2 separate regions of the Homo sapiens genome follow, and region 1 is linked to region 2. The links are contacts of gene promoters, found by promoter capture Hi-C in blood cells and fetal thymus (Javierre and others, 2016). All regions are on one chromosome and are shown on one strand. The core of a region is centred on a gene start or on the middle of the fragment in contact, and the rest is flanking DNA. Distances in the headings are between cores, read along the strand shown.

Evidence for each region. Contacts are between HindIII fragments. The CHiCAGO score rates a contact against its expected background, and 5 or more counts as called.
Region 1: a fragment that was not itself captured here is called in contact with the fragment with the promoter of STPG4 in region 2 in 1 of 17 cell types (monocytes); the score reaches 5.2 in monocytes.

What each region holds. Positions count from the first base shown.
Region 1 is chr2:47,000,767-47,003,670 of GRCh38, reverse strand. All of the region lies in intron 8 of TTC7A (tetratricopeptide repeat domain 7A), which reads right to left. Among named protein-coding and RNA genes, the nearest start is that of TTC7A, 61 kb to the right of the region's middle. RefSeq lists a silencer at 933-1,098. The HindIII fragment of the contact is 2,571 bases long and covers 38-2,608 here.
Region 2 is chr2:47,153,755-47,157,103 of GRCh38, reverse strand. STPG4 (sperm-tail PG-rich repeat containing 4) reads left to right here and starts at 1,796. Exons shown (of 7, transcript NM_001163561.2): 1 at 1,796-1,933. The coding sequence starts at 1,853. RefSeq lists an enhancer at 1,119-1,278. The HindIII fragment of the contact is 1,547 bases long and covers 1,641-3,187 here.

The sequences.
Region 1 (2,904 bases), core at 74-2,573, 150 kb after region 2:
GGTGGAGCCAGGCAGTCTGCAGGGGTGGGAAGAAGCTTGGCTGGGCACATCCAGGGTCTGGGGACCCTCCTGCCTGTCTGTGCAGACCAATCTTGTTCAGGGGATAGTGGGCTGCGAGCCATCACTATGGCCATCAGGATAAAATCTAAACTCCTTTCTGGGGCAGCCTAACTGGCGGGCTTCTCTCCAGTGACATGGAACCCCTTGCTGGTCCCTACAGTCACCATGGCCCATCTTCGGTCATGCTGCAGTTCCCTCTATCAACCTGGACACCTTCTACCTCCTCACAACCCCATTCAGGACCACCCTCTTACAGCACCATCCCTAACTCATCTCACCAGGAGAGGTCAGGCCTCTCCTGTCCTCCCCCAACCCAGCCCATGCCTCAGCTCACATGCCCCCGTCTGGTTCACCAGTTCTTGCTCATGGCTAGACTCCTGGCCCCAGGCACAGCCTCACGCACAGAACTTGACTCAACCTGCAGGGTGTGACACTCAGGAGAGAAAGACTCTGGGCCTGGAGTGGAAACCTCCCCCTGTCCACCCTAGACCTTGACCTTTAAGAGAACAGTGTCTGAATTTGTGTCTGGCAGAGGGAGGGGTGGATTTTCAGAACCGGGCGTTAATTAGGTCAGAAGAATAGGAACAGAAGAGAGGAGCATACTAGCAGCAGCGGCAGCAGCAGCAGCACAAATCCTCAGGCTGGTGATAGGCCCTCAATAGGCAGGCAGCCAGGAAGGCTCCCTGGGGGTCCTAGGGACTGGTGCGAACTGGGGCCTGTGCAAGAGAGGGCTGTGATTCCCCAGCCAGAAGCAGAAGTGGGCTGAGTGGTTACTATGGCTTTGGGGCAGGGCCGAAGTGAAATATTCCTGGTGGTTGCTGGGCAGTGCCTGTGTGTGTAACCATGGCAACAGGGAGGGGTAGGGGGAAATGGGACAGAGAAAAGGCAGGCATGGGGGCTGGTGGGTAAGCCACAGCAGAACAGAATTAATGTGCAGCTCAGGGGCCAGGGCTAGCCTCTGAGGCCAGGGCCTCAGACACTATGGGAGCATCAGTTCCTTCCCAGCACCCCCAGCTGTCCTGCTCCCTCCTCCCTGGCTCACTGCCCTCAGGCCACATGGTGTACCCCCATGCTCTGGGAGTAGCTCTGACCTAGTCCCAGCCACACTCTTTCCCTTCCACCATTGAAGTGGCCTCAGAATCCTGCTTTCTTTCATTAGAAAATCCTCTAGATCAAATGCAGTAACAGATGTGAATGCACTTGTGACCCTTAAAGTAATACATGAACATTAAATCTTCTCACCGTCTCTTCCTCACTGTTCTTAGAATAATGGCAGAATGTTCTCCTCTGGTTTCTCCCTGCCTAGTGTGCACTGCCATAACCCCCACACCCACCCCAAGGCTGCCCAGCGCTGGGGATGCACTGCTCCGTTTAATCCATGCATTTAATCCCAGGATTTAAACCTAGGGCTTGTGTAGTTGTCCTGCTCCTAGCCTTTGTCCTTCCGGCTGTTCTCCTAGGGTAGCCCCTCCTCAATTAAAGAACATTCACTGCAAGCCTTCTGGCAGGTCAGAAGAGGAGAAGCCAAAGAAACAACGCTAGTCCCCATACACCCATCACCCAACAGCTCAGCACTGCTAGCATAACACATTTCTGGTCTTTGACCAAGTATCCATGAAGCAAACATGGGACCTTAGGGAAAGGCCTCAGGCAGGCTGGCCCATGAGAAACCCAAGGCAGGGACTACTCTTGGTCAAACAGCCAGCCCTATGCGTGTGACATGCATTACTCTTTTTTTTTTTTTTTTTTTTGAGACAGAGTCTCGCTCTTGTTGCCCAGGTTGGAGAGCAGTGGTGTGGTCTCGGCTCACTGCAACCTCCGCCTCCTGGGTTCAAGCAATTTTCCTGCCTCAGCCTCCCAAGTAGTTGGGATTACAGGCACCCACCACCACGCCTGGCTAATTTTTTTGTATTTCTAGTAGAGACGGGGCTTCACCATGTTGGCTAGGTTGGTCTTGAACCCCTGACCTCAAGTGATCCGCCCGCCTCGGCCTCCCAAAGTGCTGGGATTACAGGCGTGAGCCACCGCTCCCGGCCTGCATTACTCCTTTAGAAGCTGAATTGTCACATCCACCGTCTCATCTGGCCTCACAGTAACCCTGGGCAGGGATGAAACCACTGACCACCCCCCACCCTCTGCAGATGAGGACACTGAGCCCCAGAAGATGAACTACCTTGCATAAGGTCCCAGGGAGCTGAGGCTGAACCACCCCCCATTCCCTCAGTCGGCCAGTCTGGGACTGCTGCTGCTTGCCTGAGCTCTAGCTGCCTGGGGGCTCCTCTGCCAGCTTTTTCCAACCTAGTAAGATACAAGACTAGTCCTGATCCTTTGGTGGCTGCAGGGCCACAGGCAGCACTAACCTCTCCCTCTGCCCAGCCCTGTTTCTCCTCTCTAACCCTGGACATAAACAGGGCTCCAGTCTAAGAGAAGGAAAGGAAACTACCATGTGGAGCATGTTCTGTACGGCATCTCACAATGCTCACAATAATCTTCTGTGTACTCTCAGCCTATTTTACAGATGAGAAGACTAAGGGAGGCCAGGTAAGCTTTCCAATGCATACAAGACAGGGGGTTGGGACCTAAATTAGAGCCCAGACATTCTGACTTCACTCCTGGCTCCTTCTGTGCCTCCAGGTACCTCCGAGGAAGTGCCCAATAGCCTCATCCGTGCCATAAGAGACCCTGGGCTGGCTCTGCTTATAAAAGAACTGAAGCAAAACACAAGGCCAGGCTTCTCCCATCAGGCCCTGGGTGCTGCTTCTCTGCAAAGAACATGCTCCCTGGGCAACAAGTCCAAGGCCCTGATCAACCGCATTCTCAAAAACAGGCTCTCCATTGGCCAAG
Region 2 (3,349 bases), core at 547-3,046:
CAATTAAAAACCGTGTTTTGGGTGTTTAAAATTAGAGGAGAAACGATTTGTCATAAAATGAATCTTCCAACAATGATAGGCACAGGGTCCTTTGGGACTTAGTGGATTAGGCTTAGAGGTCTACTCAGAGGAGCTGACCCTTGAGATTTTCCAGGTGGTCAAAGAAAAGAATAGCATTTCATGCAGAAGAGCTAGCATATGTGGAGACAAATAGAAATGTGAAGATGGCATGTTTGGGGTTTTTGCAAGCATGATACAGCAGAGCATGCCATCCTAATAAGAGAAGTGGCCGGGTGTGGTGGCTCAACCTGTAATCCCAACACTTTGGGGGACCGAGGTGGGTGGATCATGAGGTCAGGAGTTCGAGACCAGCCTGACAAATATGGTGAAACCCCGTCTCTACTAAAAATACAAAAATTAGCTGGCATGGTGGCGGGCGGCCGAGGTTGTAGTGAGATCGCGCCACTGCACTCCAGCCTGGGCAACAGAGTGAGACTTCGTTTCAAAAAAAAAGAGAGAAGCGAGAGACTGGATTGTAAATGTTGCTTTTGTCCTAAAGGTAATGACAGCTCACATTTACTGACTGCACTGTGCCAGACATGGTTGTGAACAGTTCGAGTTAATCTTTTTTATAACCTATGTGGATAGGTACCAATTTTATTATCCCCTTCTCTATAGACAAGGAAATAAGCACAGAATAAGTCATTATATGCAACCAGCGTCCAAGTCCTGGTAGTCAAGGGAGGAGAGTGATTCAAGAATGAGGGAATAATCAATGCAGCAATGAAAATTGAAGGCCAAGTTTCATAAGAGCTGAAAATCCCCACTGGATTTGGCACTTGGATCCCTGGTGAGTTCAGGTGCAATTTTAATTAAAAGCTGTGTGCAGGCCAGATTAAGATGTTTTAAGGAAAGTATGGGAAGTGAGAAAAGAGTCCATATTACTCTTGAAAGTTTGTAAAGGGAAGCAGAAACTTCATGGTATAGGGCAGTGGAGCTCTAGAGTCAGGTCTGGATTTTAATTCTGGTTCTGCCATTTGTGTGTGATGCTGAGTGAACTGTGCTAAACGTCCAAGGAAACCTTTGTTTCCTCATCCAGAAAATGAAACTAATACCTACTTTGTAGGGTTGGTATGAAGATTAAATGAGACTAATGTGTGTGAAGTCCCTGGAATACAGTAGGTACTGTATAAAATGAAATTAAGGTTGTGGAGGGTTTGTTTTTAAAGGTGAGAATGTTCCTAGGTTAAGAAGAAGCTACAGCCTAGAGAGGCTGACAATAAAAAGGGTCTATACTGAGAAGAATGGGGTGGTCTGTGGTTTCACAGCTAGTGAAACCGGCTGTGTCTGGTGCTCACTCCACTCTGCAAGTCAGAAGCAAGAGAAGTCAGCCCCAGAGTTTCTATTTGGAGGAGCTTAGAAACAATCTTAGAAAGTGGGTGCTAAGGCAGATTTCTCTTAAGTATGCCTACCAAGCACACTGCCTCCCTGTCTGGGGTGTGCGATTGGTGGTGGATTGGAAGGGAACTAATGGAGATTGTGGGTACGCTCAAGCCCTTAACAAGCCTCCCTTTTCGCAGATCCTTACCCGAGGGCTCTCTAGCAACTCCAGAGCCCTCTAGATTTTCTTCTCACAAGCTTTCATAACCGTCTCTTTTCGAGGGTTTTCCTCTGCGCAGTTCTTCGCGCGGGACCTCAAAGTGCGTGCCCGCTTCCCTTCCCTGCAGCACTAAAGACAAACCTGGCGGGTCCCCCGGAGCGGTCCCAGGCGCGCGCGCTCGGGAGCCCACGGGCCACACCCGCCTCCTAGCAACCGGAGCTCAGGTTCAGCCTAGAGAGAGAGGAGGCCACCATGGACCAGCCAGCCGTCGCCACCGCTTCCACCTCAATAAGGGAAGACCTGGTGGGTGGAGAATCATTCATCACAGCTTCGGTAAGATGGCCTGCCCCTTGCCGGCCTGGCTCCTGCTCCCCTCACCAGGCCCACTACCCTTTTCCCACCGCTCTCTAATCCCAGGCCTTCGTGCCGCTCTCGTTCCCTCTTCCTACCCTTCTCTCCCTGCCCTCACGCACGTCTCCACCTGCGGACCTTCCTTCCTGGTCTTTATTGGACATTTCCTTTGTTTTATTTCTTTTCCCCTTGCTTCTTCCCTTTTCCTTCTCCTTCGCCCTTTGTTTTCTGTATTTTTCCCTTCTTCCCACTACTAATTAAACTGGACAACTGCTTTAATATGGTGATTGGATTTCTTTCCCTTTCCGCTCCATCTGCCGGAAGACTGGGTTTTTCCTTCTGTAGTTTTACTAGACACGTTTTGCTCCGCCTCCTACTTTAATATTTATAAAAATATTTGAAGCTACTTTTGCTACGTTTTTCTTTTAGAGTCTCGCTCTGTCACCCAGGCAGGAGTGCAGCGGTGTGATCTCGGCTCACTGCAACCTCCGCCTCCCGGGTTCAAGGGATTCTCCTGCCTCAGCCTCCCGCGTAGCTGGGATTACAGGCATGCACCGCCATGGCTGGCCTTTGTTACATTTTAAAATAAATGTGGGTGAGGGTTGTTTAACCTAATCTTTTATCTTTCCCCTTAGAGTGAATTTAAAGTGGTAGATAGATGGAATTTAGATCACCTGTCTTGGGCAAAACAAAACAGCAGCTGCCAATTGTCTTCCATTAGATTGATCGCGTTTACTTCTCTCTCCTTCCCATCTCATTTTCCTTATTCTGGGGTAGGGGTGGGAGGCCTGTCTTGACCTGCCTGAGAAAGTTGTATTTCTGTGACTATAAAAGTGCAACAGAGAAGATTCAACATAAATCTCGCGAAGAAGTATCAAAGAAGAAGCTCAGCTTTAGCAGTGTCATGAGAAAATGTTTTTTAAAGAAATTAACATATTTCATAATAAAATAAAGCCCAGTGGTACTCATAAGTACAGTAGATTTAAGTTACTAGACAGGAAGAATGAATTATATCAGTTTTACTGATTATTACTTTTAATGCAGTCCTGCTTGATGACCTATATTTTATAGTAATAAAGGCATTATAAATGAAAGGAGAACTCAACATTTTAATGATTTTATCTAGGACAAACAGCAATATACTAAACGGTTGTGTTCTGTGGACAATGGGCTGAAATAAATATGAAATAATAATGGATGAATGGGTATAGAGTACTAAATATGAAGACAAAAGCTTCCTTGGAAACTGAGGAATACCAAAATAATCAGCTTCTTAACTTGGCAAATGGGATGTTAAAAATTAAAGCTACCATTTATTAAGCACTGATTGTATATGCAAGTCTTTATAAGTACAATGCCTTAGTCTTTTTTTTCCCCCTGAGGTGGCTTCTTGCTTTG